Regions from separate parts of the Homo sapiens genome. Here all the other regions are linked to region 1. Evidence: promoter capture Hi-C in human tissues and cell types (Jung and others, 2019). All regions are on one chromosome and are shown on one strand. The core of a region is centred on a gene start or on the middle of the fragment in contact, and the rest is flanking DNA. Distances in the headings are between cores, read along the strand shown. Region 1 holds the start of MSI1 (musashi RNA binding protein 1). Region 2 overlaps SPPL3 (signal peptide peptidase like 3). Region 3 overlaps SPPL3 (signal peptide peptidase like 3). Region 4 overlaps MLEC (malectin).

Region 1 (7,478 bases), core at 3,472-5,971:
ACAGGACGATGAATCCTCTGAGTAGCTCCCCTTTCTCCCAACACACACAAGCCCCTCTCCAGTCCACCCCAGAGCTCACGTGGAAAGACATATAGTGTCTTCAGGCCACAGAGCAAGGACGTCAAGAATCCCCTCTTCCCAGCCCAGCCCATTCCACAAACACTCCAAGCAGAGGTTCCAGAAGCATCTTCCAGAGCAGGAAATACTGGGAAAATCACTGCCCAGCATTGCCCATAGTAAGAGAGCTCCTCCCAGACATAGACACACCTACCTTGGGCTGTGCTCGCCGAGGGAAGGCCACCTTAGGGTCAATCTACAAGAAAAGGGAGAGGTAGAAGGGGTCTTGGTTATCGCATTTTTAGAAGAGCGACCACACAGCCTTCAGCCCTCAGGACCTCTCTCCTCCCAGGACACAAAGGTGACAGAAATCACAAAAGCCTCTAGGAGGAGAGAATAGTGGTTAAGCATTTATTTTTATTTTTTCTTCAGACAGAGTCTCACTCTATCACCCAGGCTGGAGTGCAGTGGCACGATCTCAGCTCACTGCAACCTCTGCCTCTCGGGTTCAAGTGATTCTCCTGCCTCAGCCTCCCTAGTAGCTGGGATTACAGGTGCGCACCACCACACCCAGCTAATTTTTGTATTTTTAGTAGAGACGGGGTTTCACCATGTTGGCCAGACTGGTTTCAAACTCCTGACCTCAGGTGAGCCGCCCGCCTCAGCCTTCCAAAGTCCCGGGATTACAGGCACGAGTCACCACGCCCAGCCAGTTAAGCATTTAGACCCTAACGTCCCACTGCTGGGTTCAAATCCCATTTGCACTGCTTCCCAGCTGTGAGACCATGGACAAGTTATTTCCCCTCTTTGAACGTCAGGGTCAAGTTCACCTGCAAAATGGGCAAATAATAACACCCACCTCAAAGGGTCATCAGCAGATTATTGGAGATAATGCATACAAAGCATTTGGCATGGTGTCTAGCTCACAGCAAAAACAAAAACAAAAAAAATGTAAGCCGTCTTATTCCTTCAAGTATCAGGTAAATCGAGGGCCTTCCTTGCGTAACTGACTTCACACAGATGACCTATCTAGGTAAGGTATGCAATTCAGGCTTTGGAAACCCTGCAAATGGGAATACTCTTTGTCTGCAAAAGGCTACAAGCTGAGAGTTCATAACCATCAGGAGTAGGCTCAGTTCTGTTTTCGCAGTACTATCAACATCAAATAGCTCTCCTTGAGGCTGTGAGCAAACAGCTCCTTGATAATGCAGCTAGGCTTGGGGCAAGGCAGAGTGCAGTCTTCGGTGACGTGAAAGGGCATGGGACTTGACCTAGAAACTCTGGGCCTCTTGCCAAGCCTGTGATCTTGGTAATGCACTCGAACTCTGTGAGCCTCAGTTCCTTCATCTGCAAAGTGGGGACAATCACACCCGCTTTTCCCAGGGGCAGCTGCGGGGAATCAGATGAGATAACGCGGGTGAAAGCGGCCCTTTGTGAACTGCCCTTCATTGCACAAACAAAGGTGCTATTACCAGCAGGCCACCTTTGCCCTTGGCTGTGAACAACCAGAGGGAAAAATCAAGATGCATCTGGGTGTACTCCTGGGTACTATAGCTGTACGACAAACAGCAAAAGACAGGGCATGAGACGCTGTGATCCATGCAGGGCCTACAGGGCCAGGTCAGGCCAGAGCTTTTTGCCACCCACATGGGTGGACGTCATTCATAAGTTCACCAGCCAATCGCAGGGAAGATCTATCTTTTCCCAAAGTTCCTTCTGTTCAAAACTCAGCCTCGTTCTAGGCAGCTGGCTCTGGCTTCTCTCTGAATGGCACAGACCAGGAACTAGCCTCCTACAGGCTCCCCCACTGGAATCTGTCCACAGAGATGGAACCTCCAAAATCCACACTGGGGCAATGCCTCCTCTCCTGCCAAGTCCCACTGGGCTCCAGGGAAAAATCACAACTGCCCATTTCTCCCGCCTGAAGTTTCAATTCCACACCTCCACGGACATGTCCATCCTTCTCTTTCTCCCAGAAGCAGCCGCCCCAGCCACCAGCGCACCACACACAGTCCCCCTACACAGACCCCGATGGGGAGATGGTACCCAAGCCACGATCCCACAGACCCACGCACACCCCATCCCTGACACACCCCACCTCCACTGTGACTCACAGCTGGCAACATAAATAAAACCCAACAAGTAAATAAAAGGTGAAAGTCAGAGCTCAAAATAGACTCCCCACAGTAAACCTCCCTCCCACCCCCTTTCCCAGGCTGGAGGACGCCAAACACAGACAAAGCCCTGGCCCTTTTCAGCCCCATCTCCTAAGGATGCTCATCTCACCCTCCTTCCTCCCTCATTCTCTTCCCCTTTATCAATCTTCCACTCCTCCATCCCCCAGCCCCTAAATCTCAGCTTCCTCAGCACTGCAGAAGCCATCAGTGCATTCTGAGGACAGGGGATGGTAGCAGAACAGGCAGCTTGATGGCAGATAATCACCAAAAACAATAGGCCACTGTCTCTCCATTTCCAGGCTTGGGTCACTCAGGCTGCGCCAAGAAGATCCTTTCAGAGCCGGCAAAGTTGAGGCCTGGCCTCATTTGCTCATTACTGCGAGCGGGAGCGGGAGCCACTGGGCAGAGATAACAGGAGCTGGGGACAGGCGGTAATTTGACAAATTCTTGGGCACAAGCAGCTATTGTTGCAGGTAAACGGGAGCCAGGGACTGACCCAAGCAGAGAGGCCCAAGGCTGGGGGACAGCAGGGAAGCATGGAGAGAAGAGATCCACACTATCCCTGCCCCCAGCAGACAGACACCCCCATCACATGGGAGTAACCCCCTCCTCTGACTTTTCTACTTTTCCATCTGCCCTGGAGCCAGCGCCCCCTGCAGGGTCTAAGACACGAAGGAGCTGTGGGACAACAGCAAAATGTTCCATGAGTTTGAATGCCAACCAAGCAGCTTCTCCTAAGATCTAGTCTTCCGAAGGGTCGTTTCCAGGCAAGCTAGAGCCTTTCTCATAAATCCCCTCCGTGGGCAAAGCAGGTCCCTGTCTTCCACACAAAGCAAGGAGCTCATTGACCAAAAGTCGGGGGAGGAGGGAAGGAGAGAGGGAGGGGGCTTCAAGGGATGCTTTGCCATTGGTCTGGATGAAGAGGGGGTGTCGCAGAGCCAAATACTAGTTAGAGTTCACAGAAGCCACCGGGTGGGTCAGTGCTACCCTGACTCACCCAATTTGGGCTGGGGGAGGGACCTAGCCCCACCCCAAGCTCTGCTCTGAGGCATCATGATTAGTACTTCTAGGGAGAGGGTGGCGGCTGCCTCTCCCCTCACCAGGACTAGGGGAGGGGGGATGTAGCATCTCATGGCAGGCCAGGGATTTTTCTCCTCCCTCTCCCCCCCAACTCTAGTGACAAAGTTTCAGAGCATGGCAGCCCTCTTACTCAGAAAAACTCCCTCCTTCCTCATGGACCCCGTCCAGCTGTCCCCTGGGGAGAGTCCTGACCCTCTCCTCCGGCAGCCTCCCTCTCCCAAAGGACCCCCGAAGCCCCGAGGGCCACTCACTGTTTTGGAGTCGAGCTCGTGCCGCGATTGCGCCAGCACTTTATCCACCCCCGCCTGGTCCATGAAAGTGACGAAGCCGAAACCCCTGCGCGCCGTAGTGAGGGAGAGGCAGATGGTTACAAGGCAGTGAGTGGCGGGTGGAGGGGGGCGAGCCGGGAGCAGGAGGAGGGGGTGAGGGGCTCACCTGGATCTCTTGGTCAGGGGGTCCCGCATCACCAGACACTCCTTCACCTCCCCGAACTGGCCGAAGTATTCGCGCAGCCCTTCTGTAACCACACACCCGCCTTCGGACCAGCCCGGGCCCCGCGCCCTTCCCCCCCCCCCGTCCTTTGCCCCCGGTGACCCCGGAGCGGCCCGGCCGCCCCCGCGCCAAGCTGCCCGCGCGTTCTCCACTGCCGCCGCCCCCCACCGCCCTCGCCCCGTTCCCGCTGAGCCTCCTGGCGCCCACCGGGGCCCCGGGAAGCCGAGGGCCGAGCTGGGCTGGAAGGGGGACGGCTCCGGCCGGGTTCCCGCCGCTCCGGGAGCAGCCTCACAAAAGTTTGAGCCGCAGGTGCGAGCGGAGTTGGCGCTGCCGCCGGCGGGTCCCGGGGGCCCAGCCCACCCCCCGATACCCCCTGAACCCCTCATCTGCTCCCCTCCACCCGCTGGGCCGGGTGCGCTCGCGGATCGCCCTGCGCTCTCGGGGTCTCCGGGCGGGGCGCGAAAGAGGGCGCGAGGGCGCCCGGGGTCAGCAGGGCGCAGGGCCGGGCTGGGGTGTCCGGGTCCGGGGCGCCGGGGGGTCCGGGGTGCCCTGCCGGACCGGCGGGCGCTCCCGGGCTCGCTCACCCTGCGTAGTCTGCCAACTGAGTCCCCCGATGAACATCTTGCTGCGGGAGGAGGAGAGACACAAAGGGCCCGCGTGAGCGCCGGGCGCCAGGGCGCAGGGGGCGCGGGCCCGGGCTCCGGGGAGGCCCGGCCGGACCCGGATCGGCCATGTTGGCGGGGCCGGGGCGGGCGCGGGCCAAGCAGGCCGGGCCGGGCCGTACCAGGGGTCGTGCGGCGAGTCCGGGGAGGCGAGGCCGGGCTGGGGCGCGTCAGTCTCCATCGGGAGCCGCGGGCGGCGCGGGCAGCGGAGCGGCGGCGGCGGCGGCGGCGGCGGCGCTCGGCGCGGGGCAGATGAGGAGCGCGGCGAAGGGGGCCGGACGGACAGGCCATGCTGCCCCCTCCCCCGACCCCGCTCGGGCGGGCGGGCGGGGACGGCCGAGGGGAGGGCCCGCCGGGGGCCGACCTGCCGGCTCCTCCCCCCGCCGCCCTGCGCGCATAAAGCCCCGCGCTCGCCCGCGAGCCCGGGCGCCCGCGGAGGCGGCGGCGCCGGGACCCCCTTCCCGCGGGGCTCCTGGGTCTCCGGGGCCGAGCGAGACCCCCGAATCCCGGTGCGGGCCGGGACCAGGGCGCGGCCGCACCCCCCACCCACCCCGGCGCGGGGGCCCGGCCGCGGGAACGCCCTCCCGGAATGAAGCGCTTCCCGGTGCCTTCAAGGTAGCTCGGTTCCGGATCGGGAACCCCCCCGGTCTTCCCTCTCAGGTCCCTGCTGTCCAGAATTGAAGAGAACCCCAATCTCCTCGGGTCGGGCGGGAGATAGCCCTAGTGCTCCCCAGTCCCCACATGCTCCATTTCCCCAGTCGGAGCGAGAAGCCGCCCTCAGAGCCCCCAGTTTCCTCCCAACCTAATTTACAGCCCCCCACCCCCACCCCAGGGCTCTAATTTAGAGCCCTCGCTCCGTTCCCAGGATCCCATATCCAGTTTGGGGGACCCACTCAGTGCCTCGCGTCCCGAGTGGGGAACCTCCATCAGCACCCCAGTAGAAACCGTATCCTCTTCCCCAATCCGTCCTCAGCCCTTGGTGTCCAAAGTGAGAGTCCCCCTTAGTTTCCCCAAATCCCTGCCGTCCACATTAGTGGACCCTATGGTCTGTTGAGAAAATCCCGCGCCCCAAGCCCGGGTTCTCAGTTTGCCGCCACCCCCACCTCCCGGTGTGAGGAGTCTCCCCTGGTTCTCTCCCTCCCTGGCCGGTTTTTGTGAGATCCATTCAGACTCCTGTCCTGATTCGGGAAACCCGGTTCCAGACACTCACCACCCCCACCACACCGAGGCTGGAGGAAAAGGCAGTGCCTCTTAGAGCCTCCTGTTTCCAGTTTAGGAGCCCAACGCCTCAGCTGTGCACCGTCCCCTCCGAATGACCCCCTTCTTTTGCAGAGGTCTAAGCTCCACCCCATCCCATTGGAAGAGCCTAAACTACCTACCCACTGCATTTGGAATGACTTCCCTCAGTCCCTCTTATTTTGAGGCTACTCCCCGTGAAGGCAAACACCTTCCTTTCTACCCCCATCTTCTGGGTCTCTGGGATCCCCCAGTACTTGCACCCAAGGCTCCTTGGAGTCACCTTACGTACCCCTAAAATTCCCTCCCTCCAGCCTGGGAACAACCCTGAGAAAGTATTCTGGTTCACCAGGGGAGCTGCGGGGCCACTCTCCTTATCCCCACCTCTCCTTATCCCCGCCTCTCCATATCCCCACCTCTCCATATTCCCACCTCTCCATATCCAAGCCTTAGGACCCTTCACTTCCCCAGCTGAAACCAGCCAAAAAAGGATCAAACCAGGAAGCTTAGGTGGCCAACACCCCTTCTCCCCATCCCTGCTGGGGGTCTCAGTGCCACACAAGCCCCTCCCTCCCAACTCACCTTCTACTCCTTCCCCCATCCCTACCTTAATCCATCCGGTGTAATCCAGTGACAACCCATGTTGACAAGCCCTTTGCTGTTCACCTTCACATTCCATCCTGAATTCAACACCTTTTATTCCTGGGCATCATAACTCTGACCTCTGGAAGGGTGCCCATCCCCCTCTTGATAGCCCTCCTTCCCTCTCCCCACCCCAACCATCAGGCAGAGAAGAAAGTGAGAGACTTACAGTAATGGTTTCCTTGGGGACCTTCTGGGAATGCTCAGCAGGTATATCCTGCCACCCTGTGAGCATAACACTAGAAACAAACTTGCTTTTTCCTGTTTGTGTCCCCTACTCTGCCCCACAGTTTCTCAGCATCCCCTGGACTGGGGACTGGAGGGCCACCCACACAAGGCATTTCTTACCATTCCGACACAAAAGCATTCCAGTTTGTGTTGTAGCAGAGACACAGATGAGGGTGAGCAGGTAGCCTCTGCGGTATTAGGGAGGTGACTCTTCTTAGGTCTGAACTTAAAAAGGGTCATTGGAGAGGTGCGGGGAGTAGGGATCTTCCAGTGTTCCTGGACTTTGGTTTGTGTGCTGGTGCTGCTGGGCAGATGAGCTTGAAGGATAGGAAATGGGTCCTTTCCGGCAGTGGCGACCTACCCACGAGAACATGCCTCTCGACAGGGATCTCCTTCATCCTTCTCCAGAAGAGAAGAGGAAACAGAAGAAGAAACGCCTGGTGCAGAGTCCCGATTCCTACTTCATGGATATGACATGCCCAGGATGCTATAAAATCACCATGGTCTGTAGCCATGCACAAACGGTAGTTTTGTGTGTTGCCTGCTCCACTGTTCTCTGCCAGCCTACAGGAGGAAAAGGAAGGCTACAGAAGGATGTTCCTTCAGGAGGAAGCAGCACCCAAAGCACTCTGAATCAAGATGAGTGGGAAACCATCTCAATAAACACATTTTGGATTAAAAAAAAAAAAGGAAATGGGTAAAGGCATCTGTTCAGAGTCAGCCAATGCTGTGTAAGAAGTAGCTTGAGATAGGATCCATGTATTAGCATATTCATTCAGAATCTGAGGAGGAAGCGTCTACCTCTTTTGGTCAGTAGCTTGTTTGTATCACAGTAACATGGGTTAGACTTAGACAAATCCTCTTTCAGTGCAGGTGTATCTCAGCTGCAGCAGCTTCAGTCCAC
Region 2 (7,478 bases), core at 3,402-5,901, 490 kb after region 1:
GATTTTTGCACGTGGCATCTGAAAATATGTCCAAGAAAATTTCTAGCTTCTATCAGGCATGCTAGTTAGCTATGAGGAAGCTTGACTAGTGCACAATACATGTAGTCTTTACCTTTTGGGACCAGGAAAATCCTATTTATCCGAGACTCCTAAAAACCACTCTGGGTTACAGGTTCTGGATCTTCTCACACATACCCTCCCCCTACAATTCTCATGTCCTCAGGCCTTACCACTTCTTTGTGACAGCTGCTGCTTTATAAAGACATAATTCTAGCGTGAAGTATTTCTACTGGAAAATCTGGGATTGACAGGATGTTGACAAGGACTCAGTAAAAATAACCATTCCTAACAGAGTGTGTAGATACAAACAGGCAGTCACTGGTCAGAAGTTTTCCTCAGCTGAGTCACCCGGCCATGGAAAACCCCAAGTTTGCACCTGAGAGGCTCTGAAATACTACCCTCTGGAGTGCAAATATAAAACACATTAGGCTTGGAGAAACTGTTCTAAAGCAACTTGTTGGACCAGCTAGATTTAGAAATATAATGGATGGTTGGTAAAAGGTAACTCTAGGGGCTGCCAAGGGAACTCAGTTCCAAAAACCCTTCCCATAAAATTAGGCTTTCCAGAGACACACATCTTAGATGTTCCAGAGGTTTATGAGTCCTCTCTGTTGCCCCTTTCAAATCTAAATACTTCCTCAAAGTCTCTAGAGCCATCTGTTAAGGCCAAAGTAAATCTCAACATGTCTACACCACAGAAGTTTATGCCGCATTGTAAGGAAGTCTAAAAGGCCAAATGAATGCACAGCTACTTGGGAGGCTGAGGTGGGAGGACTGCTTGAGCCCAAGAGTTCAAGACCAGCCTGGACAACATAGTGAGACCAGCCTTTAAAAAAAAAAAAAAAAAAAAACAAAAGCCAAATGCTGCTATTCTGGATTTCATACTGTGAAAAAGAATGAAAGAATGTTAGGTTTTTTGACAGTGGACGTTAGGGTTTTTCAAACACTTTCCCTTTTTAAATGTGAGTAACATCCTATATTAGTTTCCTACTGCTGCTGTAGAAATTACCACAAATACTGACTTTACACAAGCTTATTCTCATAGTTGCGGAGGTCATGAATCTGACATCGGTTTTATAGGGCTGGTTCCCTGTGAGGGCTCTGAGGGAAGAATGTGTCCTTGCCTTTTTCATCTTCTAGAGGACCACCTGCATTCCTTGGCTCACATTCCCTTCATCGATCACTACAACCTCTTGTTTCCATCGTCAAATCTGCTACCACTCACTCTGGTGTGCCCACCTCTTCCAAGGACCTGTGTGATTATATTGGGCCAACACAGATAATCCAGGATAATCTCATCTCAAAAATATTAATTTGATGCCATCTGCAAAGTCTCCTTTCCTATATTCATAGGTTCTAGAGATTAGGACATGGACATGTTTTAGGGGTCATTATTCAGCCTACCACACAATTACCAGATTTAAAATTCTATGAAGTATACTTACCTACAGTATCTCGTTTAGATACTTACCAGGTGTTATCATTCCTAATGAATGAGAACGCGAGTCTAGAAACTTCATTGCTTAGCCACAGTGATATAGTCAAAAAACTAGAACTCAAACTAGAGCATATGGCCCTAGAGACCATGTAGCAGCAGCACATACCACTTCTCCTCCACCAGGCTGCCTGTAAATCACTGGCCTTTGGCCTCTCATTTTCTCATACAGTTTTTTTTTAAAATCATACTCATAGTCCAAACTGCAATCTACCAAAAAAAGTAGCCCACATCAGAGATTCCTCAAATGTTCTCAGGTCATGGCTCCCTTAAAATCTCAGTCATTTTTTTTTTTGTGGCATACCTGAGGCCAAAAGAAATGCCTAATAGCTCTGTTCAGTCGAAGCAGTATTTGTGTCCTAATAGCTCAGGAGCTTCTGGGCACTCCACCACTTCTCAAATCTTAGAATCAGATGGGACACTGCCACTCTCGTTTCCTGTTTCACATTCTTTTTTGTTTTTTTGAGACAGGGTTTCACTCTGTCACCCAGGCAGGAGTGCAGTGGCGCAAACACGACTGACTGGAGCCTTGACCTCCCCGGGTCAGGTGATACTCCCAGCTCATCCTCCTGAGTAGCTGGGACTACAGGTGAGCGCTACCACACCTGGCTAATTTTTGCATTTTTTGTAGAGACAGGGTTTCACCACATTGCCTAGGCTGGACTTGAACTCCTGGGCTCAAGCGATCTGCCCGCCTCAGCCTCCCAAAGTGCTGGGATTACAGGCGTGAGCCACCGTACCTGGCCCGTTTCACACTGATTTTCAAACAGTACTGCTTTTATTTCACAGCAATGGCCAAAATCCCAGCTTTGCAAAGATATGGCATCATCAAAAGGAATTTAGTGATTTAATGCTGAATTGTGAACTACCTTAAGCTATTAGTTTGTATGATATCTAACAGATGTCATTGTGTTTCACTGAAGGTTAAAAATACTCTGTGATACCCACGAGTTTGAACCTGCAGGCCTGCGCTCCTCACATTACTGCTTGTACACTCCTGCTCTGACGAAAGTGTGCTCTCTGTTATGCAAAGTGCATAGCTGAAGCTCCATATAATGGGCTCAGACAAATAATTTAGGAAACTCCCAGTTTGTCATCGCACATAGTTACATGCCAATTTGACATTTTCTATTAAAGATATATATCTTTATTATATTTATATAATCATATATATTAATTTATATATACATATTTTACATATATGAAATATATGTATATATAATATACATATTTTACATATATGAAATATATGCATATATAATATACATATTTTACATATGAAATATATGTATATATAATATACATATTTTACATATATGAAATATATGCATATATAATATACATATTTTACATATATGAAATATATGCATATATAATATACATATTTTACATATATGAAATATATGCATATATAATATACATATTTTACATATATGAAATATATGCATATATAATATACATATTTTACATATATGAAATATATGCATATATAATATACATATTTTACATATATGAAATATATGCATATATAATATACATATTTTACATATATGAAATATATTTTATATATAATATACATATAATATATTTCATATATTATATCTATGTATATTATATATAAAATATATTTCATATATCATATATACATATATGAAATATATATTTCATATAATATATACATATGATATATGAAATACATATTTCATATAATATATACATATCATATATATTTCATATATATATATATATTTTTTAAGATGGATTTTCACTCTTGTCGCCCAGGCTGGAGTGCAGTGGTGCATTCTCGGCTTACTGCAACCTCCACCTCTTGGGTTCAAGCGATTCTCCTGCCTCAGCCTCCCGAGTAGCTGGGATTACAGGCACCCGCCACCATGCCTGGCTAATTTTTTTGTATTTTTAGTGGAGACAGGGTTTGACTGTGTTGGCCAGGCTGGTCTTGAACTCCTGACCTCAGGTGATCCGCCCGCCTCAGCCTCCCAAAGTGCTGGGATTACAGGCATGAGCCACTACGCCCGGCCTAAAGATATATTCTTTACCATCATCTTATCTGCTCATCCACTTTTTTTCCTAAGGCAAGCAAATGAAGGAAAATGTATATGGTAAATATTTGATTTCTAAGTCTACAGAACTATATTATATTACATCTACAAGCAGAGAATTCCTGTTAGACAAATAAAGTACACTGACATTTTTATCTGCCCAAAGGAATTGCACTTACTCATTCAAATGTCACATGGACAAACATCTGACACCAAACGTAAAATTTTTTCCTTAGTAACTTCTAAAAATGTACACAATAGTAGCAAAACAAGAAGCTGTAACAAACCATAGTATTCCTAATTCTTTTGATATAAATTTTAGACTAAGAAGAAGATATGATGCACACCAAAGCACATGGAAAGGAAGTTTCAGCATTTGTTCAAAATGATTAAATTCATGGATCTTCTAGACCAGTGATTCTCAAAGCTGATGGTGTATCCAAATCACCTGGAGGACTTGTTAAAACACAGATCGCTGTACCTACCCCAGAGTTTCTGGTTCAGCAGATCTGGGGCAGAGCCAAGCATTCATAAATTTCTAAAAAGTTCCCAGGCAATACAGATGCTACTACTAGTCCAAAGACCATACCTTAAAAATCAGTTTTAGATAAAATTCACATTTTCATAGCAATTCAGAAAAACTACTGAATATATTATGAAAGCAAGTGAGATGAATTTGTATTTGGAATAGCAAAAAACAACAACAAAACCCAAACCCAAAACCACATGAAAACAAACACCACCACCACCACACACACGCACACATACACACACACACACACACACACACACACACACACACACACACGGGGAAAAAAAAGGCCAGAGGGAGAAGAAAACCCCACAGTGACAGTCAGTTCCCCAAACAGGATAAACCTAGCTACTCAAACTGAATTACTCATGACTGTGCAAGTTATCAATGTACCCTTTACTGACGGCTCTTCAAGGAGTAAATGTAAGAACACATGTGGCAGCCTCCTGTGAGGTGGGCAGAGGAAACTGACCCAAGGAAATCAGAAAAGCCAAGGGTTTACCATGAAGCACCTAAAAAATTCTCCACATTCAGTGGGAGGTAAACATGGTCCACCCCTAAAACAATTTTAGAATGCTCAAGAAACTGTTTTGGTGATAAGTGTTGAATTATATGTATCTATATACATACTCTAGTAGTCTGATGCTAAGTAAATCTAGTCTTGCCAACATACAATGGAGAAGTAAGCAAGCCAACAGCACAGGTCTTTTTTCTTTTTAAGTCATGGCAGCTATGTGCTGTGTGACCACCTTCCTTTTGCAACAGCTACACCTATAAATCACTAAAACAATAATTGATGAACAAGAGCCTGAGGTGCTATCAAAGCCAAATACATGTTAAATTATATATTCTGTATATTTTATTAAGGCAAGAAACCATTTTAATAATACTAAAAAGATTTTCAAAAAGACTCAAGCAAAAATGACTGTCAATTGGGTCTAAAATTCAGTCAGCCTGAATGCCCCAAAGTCTAAGGAAGCATCATGAAGTTACAAACCTTTCCAAAGGTCAACAAGAAGAAGCTAACTTCCTATTATTCCTACTCCTTTTAAATAACAGTCATTACCAAGTGTTTCCAAAGCGGGGCATTTGTTTTGTTATAATCAAAACCTGCTCAACTGAGGAAAAACAGTGCAATGAAAATATTCTTATATTTATGACATTCAAGATCACTATTTGGACCAAAGAACACGCCAGGATTTTTATAGCACCTGCATGTAACTGTTTCATGATGACCCTCCACAAGGGGCAGGGAAGGGACAGGGAAGGAAGAAGCATGCAGGGCTTTCCTGACCCTACTTCTAGTGTGTAGGAAAGAGGAGAGGGAACTCATTATCCCTCCAGCCACCGTTTCTTCTCCTTGTATGGATGGATCACTAGACCCCACAGAGTGCAAGAATGACGAGAGAAGGGGACTATCAGTGATTAATCCTTGTACTAATAACTTATAAAGTACATCCCCTCAGTATAACAGATTCCATATAGCACAAAAAATGAACAGAAATAATAGTTTCCTGGCATTTTCCAACTACCCAATTAGAAACTGACAAATGTATAAAAAACAATTTTTGTCAAGTAAATCATAGGCCCTGGCTATTTAGCACTATGACCTCAAAGCTTAATTTTCAAATAAAATGACTGGTCTCAAGAAAAACAGGCCAGGCGCTGTGGCTCAGGCCTGTAATCCTAGCACTTTGGGAGGCCGAGGCAGGCAGGTCACATGAGGTCACGAGTTCAAGACCAGCCTGGCCAACATGGTGAAACCCCGTATCTACTAAAATACAAAAACTGGCCAGGCATGACGGCAGTTGCCTGTAATCCCAGCTACTTGGGAGGCTGAGACGGGAGAATCGCTTGAACCCGGGAGATGGTGGTTACAGTGAGCTGAGATCGTGCCACTGCACCACTGCACTCCAGCCTGGGCAGCTGAGCAAGACTCCATCTCAAAAAAAAAAAAGAAAAGAAAAGAAAAACAGTACTTCAGAAATGTGTTCAGTACTTTTTCTGGCAGTAAAACAACCTTTTTGTTTCTCCTACACAGAGAAATTATTTCACTCATGCAAATGAATGGGGGTGTACTTGAAGCCCCAGAGCCACATGGGGTGGTCTCATTGTCAGATTCTGTGGCTGTTCACCATGAACATGCTTTCTGGAATGCACCTGAGAAAATCTCAAGACTAAATGCAATTCTGAAAAGGCCCAGGGAGTGAATCGTGATTAATGTAAGCCAGCACTGTTCAACAGAACTCTGTGATCATGAAAACATTCTAGTAATATTACAGCACTGTCCAATCAGGTAGCCACTAGCCACATGGGACTACTGAGCACTTGAAATGCAGTGAGTGCAACTAAGGAACTTAATCTGTAGTTGTACTTAATTTTAATGAACTTAAATTTAAATAGCCCCATGTGGCCAGTGGCTACCTTGCTGGACAGCACAAACCTAAATGCAGATTCCAGTCCCCTTGTGGCTTAGGCTTATGATGCAATTCTGGCCAATGAGACAGAAGGAAAAGATTTCCCTTAATCTGAAAGAAAAAAAAAAAAGAAACACAAAGAAGAGAAGGTTCTTTTTTTGTGGTCTTGAGGATGTGATGTCTCGGAAATGTTGCAGTTGTCCTGCAAACAGCAGCGCAGCAAGCCTAGAGGTGAGGTTAACATGCTGGAGGGCAGAGCAGAAGAATACACAGAACATGAACCCTTGCTACTCACTGAGCCCCCTGGCCACTGGTGTGGAGATGAACAATTTTCATCTTTTTTTTTTTTTTTTTTTTTTTTGAGACAGAGCGAGACTCCGTCTCAAAAAACGAAAATAAAAATTTAACTATGGGACAAGATTCTGGAACGACGGCAGCATTCAGGGCATAGTTGGTTTGAATCCTCCTGAATTTTCCCATAAAAACAGATTGAGCAATCTGGATGCAAAACTGAAAATCTGCACCTACAACAAAGCTAAGTGATCAGGTAGCCTCACAAAACCCAAAAGACAAGCAGATGGGGACAAACTACTGACTGCTAAAGACTGGTGTGCAATTGCCATCTGTGTGAGAAGCAGCAAAGGGAAGCAACAGGGTATTTGATGAATCTGAAATTAGGAAAACCCCAAATGAGACAACAGGTACTGGCAAGCAAGGTGAGCTGAACTAGGAATAGCAGTTGAACTTTAAAGGAGCTCTGTACATTCCAACTTATGGCCTGTACAAGGGGATGGAGTGATAGGGACCCTCTAAACTAAAAGCTAACCATCTGAAGCTCTCTTTCAGGACAAAGTCTTGTACTGAGGAGAAACTACTGGGAACAGAATCCAGCAGAACAGAGACAGGAGAAGAAA
Region 3 (7,478 bases), core at 3,070-5,569, 400 kb after region 1:
AACAGGAAGAAGATGTCTTGGAACTTAAGAGAAAAACTGGTTAGGCAGACTCCAAATGAAAGGAACCAGAAGCGAAGCGGAGTCTGCCGCATGAATTCTTAAGACCTCAGGTTATCTAGGAAATCTACCGCACGCTAAAGTGCTCCTCCGTAAGTGCTGCAGTTAGAATCTTCACAGCCTCCCTGCAGGATGTTTGTATCAAGCACCTGCTAACCACTGGCTCCGTGCGGTAAGACTTCTGAAACCTGTAGTGACGAAAGATCATTGCGCTTGGGGCTGTAGGCTTTCGCTTGTCTTCAGACATTTGGTTGAATGCAGGCCTGTGTCCACCAGGAGCACTGGGCTTCTCCTACACCAACTTGCTTCTCAGCCTTCTCTTCATTGGCACATCCCGTCCAGTGATACAGGATCCCCAGCCCAAGCCTCTGCTATTTACAGCAAGGCCCAGAGTTACGGAGAGAAGGCTGTGGATTCTACTCTTGAACGCACTGTGGCATCCCTGCGTGACCTTGTGTGGGAATGGCTGCCACACCCCCTCCCCACAAGCCAAGCATGCTAAAGCAAGCCCTGCACAGACCGCAGGAGTAGGGGGTCAGGATGTCTGGTTTTGTTCACTGGGGGGCCCAGTGCCTCAAGCTTCACTGAAACATGACTGATTGCCTCTAACGGACAGGAAAGGGCTCTGGATTTCAAGGGAAAGGCTGAGGAGGAAACAGATGATGGCTGGAGCGGGAAGAATTTTGTGATGGGAGAGTCTCTGCGCATGAGACAGTTGGAATCTGAACCTGCAGAAATTTGAGTTTAGAGTTTTGCAGATAGAAAGCACCCTATACATTGCAGGGAATAGGAATAATTTCTGGATTAAAAAGTCTTACCTGGTTTATCCCTTCCAATAAGAGGAAGAAGCTTGAGTTGGATGACTCGATCTGCAGTGCTTCAGCTGACACGTGTTAGCAGCCATTGTCCTAGAAATGATTTCACTGTTGGAAACTGCTGAAGAAATGTGATTCGGTGAAGTGGGGGAGGCTGTCCTGGCCACTGTGCACTGAAGACCAGAAAGAGACCGAGATGGCTTCCTTCTGAGCCTGTACCGCTGACATAGCTCTGTAGAGAAGGGGGTTGTATAAATGATGTCCCTAAGGCATGTACTCCCATGTATAGACACGAGTGCTGCATTCCCAGGCTCTGACGTAAACGCTAGGCTTTACAAAACAGAAACGTACACACAACATGGGATCTGGTGAGCAGTAACGTGAGAGCTGCTAAGCAGACACAGCAGGTTCTATTTTTAACACTTGATTGGCAAAATGGAACTCCCTTCCCCTCCACCCTCACAGAGAACGAGTACTTTTGTTTTTCTTGTGGGTGACCTAACTTACCTGTTTACCCAAGGCCTGTGAGCCTGCTACAAAAGTAATTCAGACAGTAGCTTAGTCCCAAGCCACCGAACCGTTCCTATGCGGGGAGCTGTCACTGTCACATTCAGAAAGCGTATGCACTGTAATAACAGCAATGGAACACACTAGGCTTTGGACAGACTTTACTGTCATATCTTCATTAGCTCAAACTAGAAAAAAGAGTTATTAAAAAGCGGGAGTTCTAGTAACACACAGTCTCTTTGTGAGGAAAAAGGACTTCAGATCAGTGAGGAAGGAATCTGCTGAAATTTCATGAGCATGCCATGCCTAATGCAGCAGACTTCCTAGAAAACCCCTAAACCATGGTATTTGAGAAAACAGAATAAGAGGCGGACCTAAGTGTATCAGGCAGCGGGGAGCAAACGAGCACTGGAAGGGAAGTCTAATGTGTGCTTTAACTGCAGCCACCCACTCAACCCTCCGAGACGAGTAGAGTATTTGCTGTTTCTCTGCCAAAGTTTTAAGGGAGTGTTTTAAGGGCTTTGAAGATTAGCAACTGGAATCCAGGGTGCATTCACAGCCCTGTGTGGGTATTTCCCCCCAAAACCTGCACAGAAGTGAGAATGACAAAATAACGACGTTCCTTCTGTCTGGAATTTAATTTTCTTATGAAAACAAAGACAGAAAAATTAAAATGACCCACTGCCAGGATAACATTTCCTTTTTTTTTTTTTTTTTGAGATGGAGTCTCACCCTGTCGCCCAGACTTGAGTGCAGTGGCGCAATCTCTGCTCACTGCAACCTCCGCCTTCCAGGTTCAAGCGATTCTTCTGCCTCAGCCTCCCAAATAGCTGGGATTACAGGCGCCTGCCACCATGCCCAGCTAATTTTTGTGTTTTTAGTAGAGACGGGGTTTCACCATGTTGGCCAGGCTGGTCTCGAGCTCCCAACCTTGTGATCCACCTGCCTCGGCCTCCCAAAGTGCTGGGATTACAGGCATGAAGGATAACGTTATTTCTACCCATCACTGGCACTTGCCCTTAATCCGAGTCATTTTGGAGCCCCCCTCTCTGTCTCTGGGCCTGCTTAATTAGCTATATGCATCCTCGAGGGCTGAGAAGGAAGGAAGGGAGAGTCCGCAAGTGGATTTTTAGTCTTCACCCAATGCAGAGGCAGTTTTGAGTTCTGTGGACAGCAGAAGCTTCAGTTCTTTGATGTATCTATGACTGGGCCAGAGCTGCAGATGACCAGGTCTGGGGACAGACAGAGTCTTCCCATCAGTCTTCCAGAACAGGGAGGAGATGGCTGGGAGCTCTGTTTGGTACCAACAACCAAAGTGAAGATTATGTGACAAAGGCTACAAAGGAGTCATTTATTAAAAACAAAACCCCAGAAACCCCTCAGCAGGAATTGATGACAACAACAGAGGAATCCAACACCCTGACTGCTTCAGACTCTGTTGACAACAGGATGGGTGCCCCCTGTGAGCTCGATCCACAGTGACTTCAAGCCACAGTGACACAGCACACTAATTCATTACACAGGTCAAGACAGAGGCAGCCACTGGGGCGGGGACCCTTGGGGAGAGGCTGGAACTCAGGGCCCTTCTCCAGCCTTTGTTGTCAGGCATCCTCATGCCAACCGCAGGCTTCTCTTTGCCTCTGAACAATGGGCACCTTCTTACCAGGCAGGGGCTGCTTAGGTAAAGGTCAGCAGACCTAACACTAGTTACTCCCAGAAATCTGGGCTTGCAGCAGAGACCACAGCACAGGGCCAGGCTCTCAGGACACAGCAGCTGGTTCTTTCCCCAGTTACTGGAATTTAGGGCCCATCTCAGAGGGGCATTTGACATGTGTCCCCAACACCCGGTTGTCACCACAGGTAAACCAAGACTATAATCACAACAGCAAGGACAGGATTGTGTTGCTTTTTTCCTTTTTTTTTTTCTTAAAGGAGTGAGGGCATGGAAAATATACAGCACACCAATGAAACAAAATGTCAAAAAAAAAAATACAAAAAAATAGAAAATAGAAAAATGTATTTACAAGTAGTACGTTACTATGATGAGAAAGCACAAAGACACCTGCTGCTATAATACATGCATTGGCTCGAGAAGAAACTACGGAACACCCTGCGAGGGAGAAGCCTAGAAAAGAAAGAAAGGGCCAAAAGGTTTGAACTCTTCATCCCTAATTTGCTACACTGATCAAAACCAAGTAAGGGCTCCTGAAGTCCATGAGTCTATCATCAATCAGCACAAATGCTATACTAGTTTGTAACTGCGGGGTCAGTTGTGAAGGGGAAGGACAGCAGCTTATCCATATACAAGGAAGCCACAGTAAACTGCTCGACATGCTCAAAACGACAGCAAGCCCCTGTCAGCTACACAGCGTGATCTTAGCAGGATTTCATTTTTGTTTATTCATATATATCTATGTGTGTGTTTATATATATATATGTACGTATGTATAAAAACCGTGCCCTTGTTCACTGCCAACACAACATCTGGGTGGACATGAACTCATTACAACAAATTCTTATGTGGATGTTGTAAGAAGTCACTCAATGTCTGTGGATTTAATAAGTCACTTCACACCACAGAAAATATTTAATAAATCCAAAAAAAGGAAAGAAGAATATAACGACAGAAGAGCTTCTGTCTCAGTTCTCTGAAACTGAGTCCCCTATAGGAAACTGGTCCCAAAGTTCTCGAGGGGTCATTGAAGAAACTTCGGTTTGCTAATTTTTTTCATCCTTTTAGTGTTCAAAAGTTCTAGAAAGACTCCTCGCTGTTTTCAGTTTTTAAACAGTCAAATCTCCATCTCCCCCAGAAGGTAACAGTCTGGTGCAGATCCATAAAAACGTGGGAGGAAGGCGCGCTGGGGAGAGGCCTGTCCCTCTTGGAAGGGGCCCCACCTCTACATCCGCAGGAAGAGAAGGAACCAAACAGGGCTCCAGCACCTCTCTCCTGCAAACGAGCTCCCTTTAAATGCCAAATCCAGTCACACGGCAGTTCCTTAAACACAGGTACATTTCTGAGTACCAGGCCAGCTCTAAGAGGAAACAAACCATGAGTTGAGAGAAAAGGACTATGACGGCCATCTGGTCACTTTCCACGTGATCCATCATACTTCCAGGAATCGGGAGCTGCTGGACTTGGAGTGGAAAGGCTCAGACCACATCCGCCGGAGGTCGCCCTGGGAAACAAGGGACTTTCTAAGTTACAGATTTAAACATGAGGCACACACAGCTGTCTGATTCTTTAAAAAAAAAAAATTTTTTTTCCAGGTATGAAGTCTTCCTATATATTGGCCAGGCTGGTCTCAAACTCCTGGGCTCGGGCAATTCTCCTGCCTCGACCTTCCAAAGTGCTAGGATTACAGGCATGAGCTGCTGCGCTTGGCCCCTTTCTGATATTTTTTTTTTTTGAGATGGGTTCTCACTCTGTCACCTAGGCTGGAGTGAGTGCAGTGGCGAGATCTCAGCTCACTGCAACCTCCGACTCCTGGGTTCAAGCGATTCTCTTGCCTCAGCTTCCTGAGTAGCTGGGATTACAGGCACTCACCACCATGCCCAGTTCATTTTTGTGTTTTTAGTAGAGACAGGGTTTCACCATATTGGCCAGGCTGGTCCTGAACTCTTAACCCGCCTGCCTCAGCCTCCCAAGGTGCGGGGGTTACAGGCGTGAGCCACCATGCCCCTGGCCCCTTTCTGATGCTTGATCTGAGATCAGATTGCTTCTGTGGGAAACCAAAGAGCATTTAAATCTTACCCATTCAAAAATAACCCACTATTTTTAGGAGGACTCCCTAGAAGGGGTGCTTTTAGGCTCCCTGAGCAAGAAAAGGGCTTTTATCAACTCTCTAGAGGTAGTGAGTCAAGTGAGCTGGGCAAGTAAGTTGACCTCTGTATCTGCTTCCTCATCTGTAAAACGGGGCTGAGAATAGATATCTGGGAAATAATGTGCTCTTGAACTCTGGTTTTATCATATGCTGCCTCAACACTATTCAATCTTAATTATTCCCAAACTTTAACGTAGTGTTAAGCTGTTAGGTGGCAGGAGGGCACTGCTTTGAACAGAAGCAGGAAGTACCCTCAGCTGGGCTCTGGGGCTTTCAATTAGTTATTCCTCGACCAGGTGGTGTAGTGGTCTAGCTCATCAGCATTTTCTGTCAGTGGCTGCACGAATCTGGAAGCGTTTGCTAACGCCAGGGTAGCGCGCGCGCGCACACACACACACACACACACACACACACACACACACACACAGTCGAGATCACAAGCTCACTCAGGGGCTTAAGCAGAATCACCTCCAGCGAGGAGAGTGCAAACCGAGGCACAGGCCAATCCAAGTTATTGCTTTCACAGGTTTATAACTGCTGCTCTCACCTTTAAATAGGCCATCGTGAGGAGTGGCAATAAAGTAAATGGCACCAAATAGAGAAGGGCGGGCTGGGCGGCCCGGTGAATGCGAGACGCCACAGTAGCAGTGAGCAGGCCTGTGAGGAGAGAGAGGCATCTGTGAGACACGAGAGGGAACCCGTGTCACCTGGCTGCTGCTGGGCAAAGTCCTGCAACTGTACAGATCTAATGTGCTGTCGTCCATTCTATGGTTGGGGTGTGAAATGCCCAGCTTGGGCAGTTGAAGAAATGTGGATCAGCACAGCTTTAAAAAACACCTACAACTCCAAGGACACATGACTGACCCAAGTCTCACTCCTTGCTCAGGTTCCTGGGTTCAAACCCTCCTTCCAGCTCCAAGTGTGCCTCTGTCTCCTGTGATGCTGGACTTGGGAGGCAGAAGACCTGGGTTCAAGTTCCAACTCTGCTACTCACAATAGCTAACATAAATGTAGTTCAGACCTTCCACCTCTCTGAGCCTCAGCTTGCTCATCTGTCTAATGGGGATAATGCCACTTGCCTTGCCCCTCTGAGTTTGTGGACTGAAATGAACCCATGTGAATGAACTGCTGTGGGACGAGGACAGTGCTGGGGTTGAGGAGGACGTACGGAGTGCAAAAGCTCCTTTCCAGTCACTGTGCGGGAGCAGTTGCATGTGCGGGCAGGTTACTGCTTTTCCCAGCCCCATCACAATCATCTCCTGTCTGCCTACACATGAGCTGGCTACAAAACTTGGCCTAGGTCAGAGTGGCAGAAATGTAGAACTAATGAATGTAAGTAAGTATCTATTGAATAAAGTAGGAAATAAATACGACAGTCATTCAACTCTAGAGGAAGATTTAAGCACAGACTAATCCACTGCACTGTGTGCTGTGTGTCCTTGGCTTTGAGGACTGACCTGCTTTTCCTACAACGTTCTTCAGATACACAGCTGGAGAGGGAACTGGCCTATCCAGTACACAAAACACTTAGCATCTCACGGGCCAGGCTGTCTATTACAGCACCCAGAATTCCTGCTCTCCTTCCATCCAGTAACTGTAGCTAGAAGACCTGATTTAATTCCAAAGGTTGGAGGACAGCCAGAGCGAGGATCATCTGCAGTCTCTCTGGTTCTCTTACCTACAAAGTATCCGATGAGGGTGCAGTGAAAGTAGGAGACCTTCTGCATGCGCCCGGAGATGTTGGCAGGTCCAGGGGCCCCACAGGAGTCCCCACTGGCTTGCTTTTTGTAGTTGTCATAGCGAAGGACAAAGCATAGTAGGAGACCAGGCATAACGATGTCTCCGATGCCCAACATGGAGAAGTGGCTGCCAGTGGAGCTGGAATGCAGTTTCACAGGTTAGTGACGTCACACTCTACAATCCAGTTTCTATTCCTTTTGTGCAAAGTTTGTTAGCTTTTTAAGGAGTCAAAGAGCTTATCTGCATGGCAGATGGAAATCTCTTCTGATGGAACATTAGTTTTAAGAGTGTAGAGAGAAAAAGCTGCAACAGTACTGGCACTAGAGGTCTCCACCTTGGCCCCCCTGTTTCAGGAGAGCCCCTTGGAAGTGACTGCTGAAGTGATTTGCATAAGTGCTGCTTCCTCTAGAAATGTCAAACAATTCATCATTTGTGACACATTCACTGTTGAGACTTCAAATAAGCACCTGGCTACTATTACAGGTGGAAGATTAAAGCAGCACATTCATTCTGCCAAGATTATATTACCAGGAGTTGT
Region 4 (7,478 bases), core at 2,322-4,821, 330 kb after region 1:
CCTGTTGTTTTCGCTGTGACTTGGGTCTCAGTGCTAGGGTATTGAGTCAGGCAGCTGGAGGGTTGTGGCCCGAGGCTGCAGTCAGAGGTATACTTCCCATAGTGCTTCACACAGCTCCCCTGCTTCTAAAGGATAAGGTACTGTAGCCTTGGTCCTGGGGACCACCTGCCTGGGGCAGTGGACATCCTAACTAAACAGGCTTCTGGCAGTAGCTTTGGTTCCTATCCCATCGAAATTCCCCAAAGCCCTGGGCCACTGCCATTGGGTTAGTCAAGATGAAGGAGGAGGACTGGCTGCCTCCATTTTGCCTTGTTTGTTAGTTTGCCTGGGTCTGTCTGAGGAAGGAGGGGGTCCCGCCTTCCACCTCAACACATCCCTTCAGTGACTCAGAGTCTCAGAAGGAAACCCTGACTCCTGGGGCCATTTCCTAATGGTACTGTAAGCCAAGCAGCTTTGCTTCTGCCTCTGTTTCCAAGCCCACCCTTTTCCCCTGAGCTCAGGGTTAGGGATGGGCGCTTTCCTCTCTGGTTGTGAACGAAAGGAAGGAACATCTTTCTATGGCTAACAAAAACTAAAGGGGAAGTGAGGAAACAGGAAGAAGTATGGTGGGGGCTGGGGTAGACTCCCCTGGAGCCAAGCCTATCCAGCTAACAAGAGCTCCCTGGGGCTGGTCACAGCTGGCTCATGATGCTGAACTTGAAAGTTTTTTTGTTTTTGTTTTTGTTTTGTGGCTCCTCCAAGATATAGGTACATGAAGTTTAGGTTAAAGGGGTGGGATTCTTTATTTTTATTTTTGTATTGTATGTGTCAAGAATTACTCTGTTGTTCACCTTTTGCTTTTTGCACTGTTTGTTCTCTTATCTGTATTTTGAGCTTAGTGCTAGGACTGAGAGGCTGCACCATAGGGAATGTATGGGAGATGGTGAGGGGTGCCAGTGAGGGGTGCGTGGAGGAGAGGCCTGGGCTCCTCTACTGGATCTACACTCTGTCCCAGGTTTTTAGATCCCACTGAGCCCAGCTGACTGAAAACAAGGACAGTCAGGGTGAAACTTCTTTTGCCAGAAGTGTGGCCTGAGTTGAATTTCTGGGAGGATGACGCAGATGTCTGCTGCAGAGCTGGGCTGAGAGTTCTGCAGTCTAGCTCTGACTTAGGTCAGGGGCCTGTTGGTCTCTCATTGGACGTTTTTGGGTCTCACTCATGCTTACTGAAACATTGTGCCAAGAAACTCTGTGGGATTTGTGTCCCTTAAACCAGACTCACTTTTCTGAAAAATCTCCATTGTTGAGGAGAGGCTGCTCAATCGACACCCCGAGTTCTCATGACTGGGAAGATAGTTTTCTTCAGGTGTCAATGGCGTTAGACTCCCAGGAAGACTAGCCCTGCCCACAGGGCCACCTGTTGGTTTGAGAGCGTGTTCGTGTTCTCTTGCCCTCCCTGCCTAAGAGCTACTGGGATCACGTTAGCGGGCATTTAGGCTTTGATGAGAGGGCACAGTTTGAGTTAGGTTTACCTCCCCCTTTCTGTGCCTGGGAACTGTTTGGTCCAGCTTTAGAACTGTGGTTTTGACTTCCTTATCTCTTGGGAGAAGCTTCTGTTTTAAGGAATTTCTCTTCCTTCTTCTCCTGCCTCTAGCCTCTCCTGGAAAGGCCTGGATATGGTTTCTAAAATCTCAGCTGAGAACTTCAGAAAACAGCAGCAGTATTTTCCTTTTCCTAGTGCTAAAATCCCTTTCCCTAGAAATTGGCTCACCTTGGGAAACCCAGGGAAAGAATCAGCAGGTTCTCTGCCCTCCCTAGGGGTTGGGGAAGGACCCACCCCGGTCAGCACAGTGCCTTTTCCTCTCCTGCTCTGAGCCAGGGTGGGGCATTCCCTCTAGATTCAGGTTTGGGCAGGGGTCCTATAGTCCCTGCCATGGGGCTGCTTCCCTGTCCCTTCCCTCCCCTTTGCTGGCCTACTCTGGCATAATTCAAGTGTCTTCTTGCCTTGGGGATCCTTAGTGGCATCAAATGGCAACATGGAATATTGTCCTCCATGCCCCTCCAGAAGGACCTAGGAGAGTAGGTGAGCTTTCCAAAGTGAGAGACGAATCTTTCTTTCTTTTTTTTTTTAAAGGGCAGGATGGGTATGCTTTGGGCTTTCTCCTTCTGTGGCCCCGGAGGAAGGAGAGACTGAGGCAAGGCAAAGTGATAGTACACGGAAGCAGAACCGGAAACACCCAGGAACTGTTCAGAAATCTCAGAAGAAATCTGCTTCTCTTCGATGGAAAGATATAATTAACGATCAAAGAGCTCTAAGAAAATTGCAAAGAAGCCTTAATGTTCAAGCTTTAGAAAGATCAGAGCAATTTTTCTCTTTCAGTCCAAACTAAGACTCTCTGTATTTAAATCTCTCTGGGGCAAGAGGGCTAGATTTCCTCATTTTGTTATGAGACTAGATTGGTACCAGTAGATCAGCTGCCTAGCGAGGGCAGGTTTCTTCTTTGCATCTGTGTGGCTTGCTTCCAGTCTGGCCTGTCCTTTCCAGCTGCCTTTTGTCTAGCCTGCTATGGGGGGCCAGATTATCTTGATAAGAGCAGGTGATTTGGGGACTAGCTGGGTTGGCAGGAAAAGAGCAGGATGGATCTCTTGGGACAGGTTCCCCCAGGAGTATAAACACAAGGAGCCAGGATTGTGCTGGCAGCCAAGGAAACAGTAGTGCCTGTTTGAGTTGGCAGAGAGGGCCTTGGCACCTCTTGCATCCAGGCAGTCTTGTGAGATGGGGGCACATAGCACTGGGGAAAGCAGAACTCCATTCTCACCTCTATTTTGAGCTTCAGTGCTTTATTTCAGTATGAGGAAAAACAACAACAAACTGAAGTGCGCTTTCCGTCCTTTCAAAGGACAACTGTCGGGAAGGGAGAGCCGAGTTGCGAGGTAGGAGGGGAGCACTGGCAGGGAGAGACATTCTTGACTCCTCTCTTCCCTGGTGTGTTGTGATCCAGGGAATGAAAAGAAATTTGACCCTGGATTGGTTCTCTCCTTGGACTTAAGGAATCTTACCTTTTCCTTCCACAAAGTTCTCCCAGGCAAGGACCAGCTGCCCATTCTGAGCCCAGGGCAGCCTCTTCAACCATTATTGGTCTAACCTGGCTTGTCAGGAAACCAAGCCCACCCTTCCACATTGGGCCTGGCTGCTCTATTCTGTACCAAGTACTGGAGAAAAAGCATCAAGTTCTTAGCCCTTGTAGCTTCTACCCTAGTTTCCCATCCTCTCTCTGTGGAGGCCAAACCAACTCTTTGCCAGCAGCCACAACATGCATTGACAGCGGCACAGTGAGATATAACTGATGGGCTTTGAACCTGGTTGGCCGGGGAAGCTGTAGGGGTGGATAGAGCTGGCTTTCCTTCTGGGCTGTCTCCATCTGACCCTACCCCTTCCATGTCCCACCCCACTCCCACCAAAAAGTACAAAATCAGGATGTTTTTCACTGTCCATTGCTTTGTGTTTTAATAAACAATTTGCAGTGACACTCTGTGTTGGGACTGAGTTCGAACTTGATCTCAAAGCGCTGAAGTGATGGGGTGGGAAAAAGGAGACCCAGGGGTTCACTTGGCTCCAAAGAGTTCTCCTGTGACGAGGCTGGGAACTGTTGTCCATTTAGCTGTGTGTCTTTTGCTTTTCTTCTCTCTGGGATGTTTGCTTAGGGGAATCATTCTGTAAAACCCTTCCTGGTCATTTCAACTAGCAGCGCATTTAAGGACAAAAAATTTGTTTTCACTTTCACTGGAACAACTAGGCACAGACTGTCCCACTCTTAAGGCACACTGGGCCTATTGCTGCCTCTCCTCACCATTCCCTTAGCCTCTGTGATAGCCCACGGACAAGCTAAGCTAACCTAAGCCATAGGAGATTTTTCTCTGCTTGCTCCTTTTCTGGTGTTTTGTCATTGTTGATTACACATTAGGAAGAGCAGAATGCAGGAGGGATTTTTTTTCCTATAATTTATAAGCCACGTTTTACAGGTGAGGATCGTTGAGCCAGGCATGGTGGCTTAACGCCTGTTATCCTAGCACTTTGGGAGGCTGAGGCCAGCAGATTGCTTGAGCCCAGGAGTTCAAGACCAGCCTGGGCAACATGGCGAAACCCTGTCTCTACTAAAAATACAAAAATTAGCCAGGCATGGTGGTGCATGCCTGTAGTCGCAGCTACTTAGGAGGCTGAGGTGGGAGGATTACTTGAGCCCAGGAGGTCAGTGCTGCAGTGAGCTGAGATTTCGCCATTGCACTCCAGCCTGGGTGACCCAGACACAGACACACACACACAGACACACACATACACACACACACACAAACACTGAAGCTCAAAAAAGTTCAGTAACATACCCCAGACTAATGTAGTAAATGGTCTGGTCAAGCCAGGGTTCAAATTCAGTCTGTTTGCCATCAAAGCCCCAAGCTCTTTAAAGCTGTAAAGATAATTACAGCTGTCCATTACTGAGTCCTTGAAATGGGCTGGGCACAATGCCCAGCATTTTCCACATGTTATCTCTCTTTTATCTTCAACAAACCAGTTGCTATTCCCCTTTAAGAGATGAAGTGACTTGCACAAGGTAGCACAACCAACAAAAGGCGGAGCTGGGGTTTTAAACCAGGACTCCTGCTCTCCATCATTACCCTCTGCTGCCATCCATTTCTTCATGGTGCTGGGTGGCATGGCTCCAGAGCCTACCTGCGGGATTTCTCCGAGTGGGAATGGAGACTGCTGGCTTGCAGGGGTAGGGAGGGGTGGAGGTGGAGGAACAGGAGTTTGGCCTACCTCCCTCAGTTATCCCTTGAAGGGCAGAATTCAGTGTGCAGCCCCAAGAGTGAGGCCATTGTTGATGGAGTCTGTTCTCAGGGCCCAAACAAGCCAGGAGGCCCACAGAGCCTCTTTCTTAGGCTGAGCCCACCCATAACTGGAGTTCTTTCCTAATTCAGATTTCGTTGTTACTATTTCAAGTAGCTTTGCATGAGCTGCCAAATGGGGAAGAGACCTGAAGAACTCCTGCTCTAGGGAGTTACAGGGAGGGAAATTGTCTGACAGAAGATCTTGGGCCAAGTACCGGGGTTGGGTTGGACCACTCTGTGGGTCCAGATCTTAATCTTACTAAGGAAATCAGGCTCCCGGTTGGCTGGAGCCGGTGAGACCTTTCTCCATACTTAGTACCCCCCATCCCCCATAAAGGAAGAGAGATGAGTTTTTCTAGTACTTACTGGAAAGCTCATTGCTATCGCAGTGGTGAGGGGTCAAGGCAGAAAGGAGGCGGAGCATGGAGGTCCTGGAGCGGGCTTGCCTCTGCTCTCCAACAACCTAAGGCCACAAGCACCTCGCTGCAGCACCCTGGCCCAAGAGTCTCAGTTTTGTTTGTTCCTAACCACTTAACATTAGTACGAAATAACTCCACTTGCTTTGTCACTGCACTCTCTCACCTGGATCCATGGCTTCTCCCTGCCCCATGCGCCTGCCCTGTGTGCCTGCCCTCAACAGAGGGGGCGTGGAGAAAGAGGCCACTTGTGTATATTGTCATAGTGACCATTCATGGGACACTCTTCCTGGCACCAGTACAGTGCTTTTTCTTGCCGTTTTGTGTCTCTTCATAACAATCCTAGGAAAGACCTGTGACTAGCCTGACTTATAAATGAAGGCACAAAGGCCTCAGGAGAGAAACGACCTGGCCAGAGTCACATAGCTGGTAATTGGCAGAGCAAAGACTGGAACCCAATGCTGTTTGACCCCAAAATCTGTGCTTTTAGTGCCATGATATACTAGTTTTAAAGAGGAACCTTTGAGTATTGATAACTGATGAATCTATGATTACATGGAGGTTTTATTATTTCTCTGAAAAAGTAACTTTTAAGACTTGGTGATATAAAGATCTATAAATATATACAGAAATAAATTCTTAAAAAAGTGTTAGGAGTGCAAAATGTGAAAAATCATTTTCTTTTCTTTTTCTTTTTTTTTTTCCTCTTTTTGAGGCCGGGTTTTGCTCTGTCACCCAGGCTGGTGTGCAGTGGCAAGATCTTGGCTCACTGCAGCCTTGACCTCCCAGGCTCAAGCGATCCTCCCACCTCAGCCTCCTGAGTAGCTGGGACTACTACAGTGTGCAGCCACCACACCCAGCTAATTTTTATACTTTTTGTAAAGACAGGATTTTGCCATGTTGCCCAGGCTGGTCTCAAACTCTTGGACTCAAGTGATCCGCCCACCTCGGCCTCCCAAAGTGCTGGGATCAGAGGTGTGAGCCACCATACCTGGCCTGAAAAATCATTTTCTTCCCTATCCCTCTAATCCCTAAAGGATAATACAGAGGACATTCTGGTGTGTATCTTTCATTTTAAATGTATTTACATATATATATGTGTATATATGTATTTATATATATGTAATATATATGTAAATGTATTTACATATATGTGTGTAAATGTATTTACATATATATGTATTTACATATATATATATATACACACACACACACACACAGAGTCTTTTTAAACAAGTGGGAATATACCATACATATCATTCTGTGCCATTTTTACTTAATATGTCTTAGAGAGGTAGTTCATATAGATGGGTCAGTACATAGAGATTTTCCTCACTCAAGGGCTGTACAGTATCTTATGGTTAGATTGTAATTGATTTTACCAATCCCCTGTAGATGAACATTAAGATACTGCTCATTTTTTGCCAGTACAAACTGCTGCAGTGAACATGCTTATGCATATATCTTTGTGCGTATGTGCAGGTGTTTCTTTAGGGAATTCCTTTAAGGAATTACTGGATCAAACAATATATGCATTTAAAAATTTGAAAGTACTGTCCTCCATGAGGCTATATGAATTTTTACTCACCAATCTTGTGCTGTGACTTTGGAATATGCCAGAAATCTCTTTTGGAAACAGGTAGGATATAAATAATAAATAATGCTTTTTAAAAACAGCCCTCTGGCTAAGCGCAGTAGCTCACACCTGTAATCCCAGCACTTTGGAAGGCTGAGGCAAGTGGATCACCTGAGGTCAGGAGTTCGAGATCAGCCTGGCCAACAAAGTGAAACCTCGTCTCTACTAAGAATATAAAATTAGCCAGGCGTGGTGGTGGGCACCTGTAATCCCAGCTACTTGGGAGGCTGAGGCTGGAGAATCACTTGAACATGGGAGGCAGAGGTTGCAGTGAGCCAAGATCATGCCGTTGCACTCCACCCTGGCAACAGAGCAAGACTCCTTCTTAAAAACAAACAAACAAACAAACAAACAAACAGCCCTCAGCCAGATAGTAGAGTGACTTGGTACTAAGGAAATTACTAGCTCTTAGTCCCAGACCACAAGCCATGCCTGCAATCCCAGCCATGATTTGCTAATTCAGTGCATGCCATCTGGGGAGGCAGCAGAAAGCAGGACTGAACTTTCAGTCTTGGCAGAAAAATGCCAGCTGATGATGTCTTGCTTACCTTGGTTACACC

Evidence for each region. Contacts are between HindIII fragments. The study calls those that stand out against the background at their distance.
Region 2: a fragment that was not itself captured here is called in contact with the fragment with the promoter of MSI1 in region 1 in 4 of the 25 tissues and cell types used here (dorsolateral prefrontal cortex, lymphoblastoid cells, pancreas and 1 more).
Region 3: a contact is called between a fragment that was not itself captured here and the fragment with the promoter of MSI1 in region 1, in 1 of the 25 tissues and cell types used here (spleen).
Region 4: a fragment that was not itself captured here is called in contact with the fragment with the promoter of MSI1 in region 1 in 1 of the 25 tissues and cell types used here (dorsolateral prefrontal cortex).

What each region holds. Positions count from the first base shown.
Region 1 is chr12:120,364,443-120,371,920 of GRCh38, forward strand. MSI1 (musashi RNA binding protein 1) reads right to left here and starts at 4,722. Exons shown (of 15, transcript NM_002442.4): 1 at 4,591-4,722; 2 at 4,391-4,431; 3 at 3,750-3,831; 4 at 3,566-3,650; 5 at 272-313. The coding sequence starts at 4,649. It also overlaps the pseudogene RPS27P25. RefSeq lists a silencer at 1,285-1,475. The HindIII fragment of the contact is 19,353 bases long and covers 1-7,030 here.
Region 2 is chr12:120,849,603-120,857,080 of GRCh38, forward strand. All of the region lies in intron 1 of SPPL3 (signal peptide peptidase like 3), which reads right to left. Among named protein-coding and RNA genes, the nearest start is that of SPPL3, 51 kb to the right of the region's middle. The HindIII fragment of the contact is 8,131 bases long and covers 587-7,478 here.
Region 3 is chr12:120,760,516-120,767,993 of GRCh38, forward strand. SPPL3 (signal peptide peptidase like 3) reads right to left here. Exons shown (of 11, transcript NM_139015.5): 9 at 6,879-7,078; 10 at 5,748-5,857; 11 at 1,995-4,555. The coding sequence ends at 4,484. Among named protein-coding and RNA genes, the nearest start is that of ACADS, 38 kb to the left of the region's middle. RefSeq lists a silencer at 2,583-2,746. The HindIII fragment of the contact is 7,096 bases long and covers 772-7,478 here.
Region 4 is chr12:120,698,351-120,705,828 of GRCh38, forward strand. MLEC (malectin) reads left to right here. Exons shown (of 5, transcript NM_014730.4): 5 at 1-3,509. LOC124903035 (a long non-coding RNA gene) reads right to left here. Exons shown (of 2, transcript XR_007063489.1): 1 at 4,363-7,478; 2 at 3,461-3,694. Among named protein-coding and RNA genes, the nearest start is that of UNC119B, 8.4 kb to the right of the region's middle. The HindIII fragment of the contact is 5,890 bases long and covers 627-6,516 here.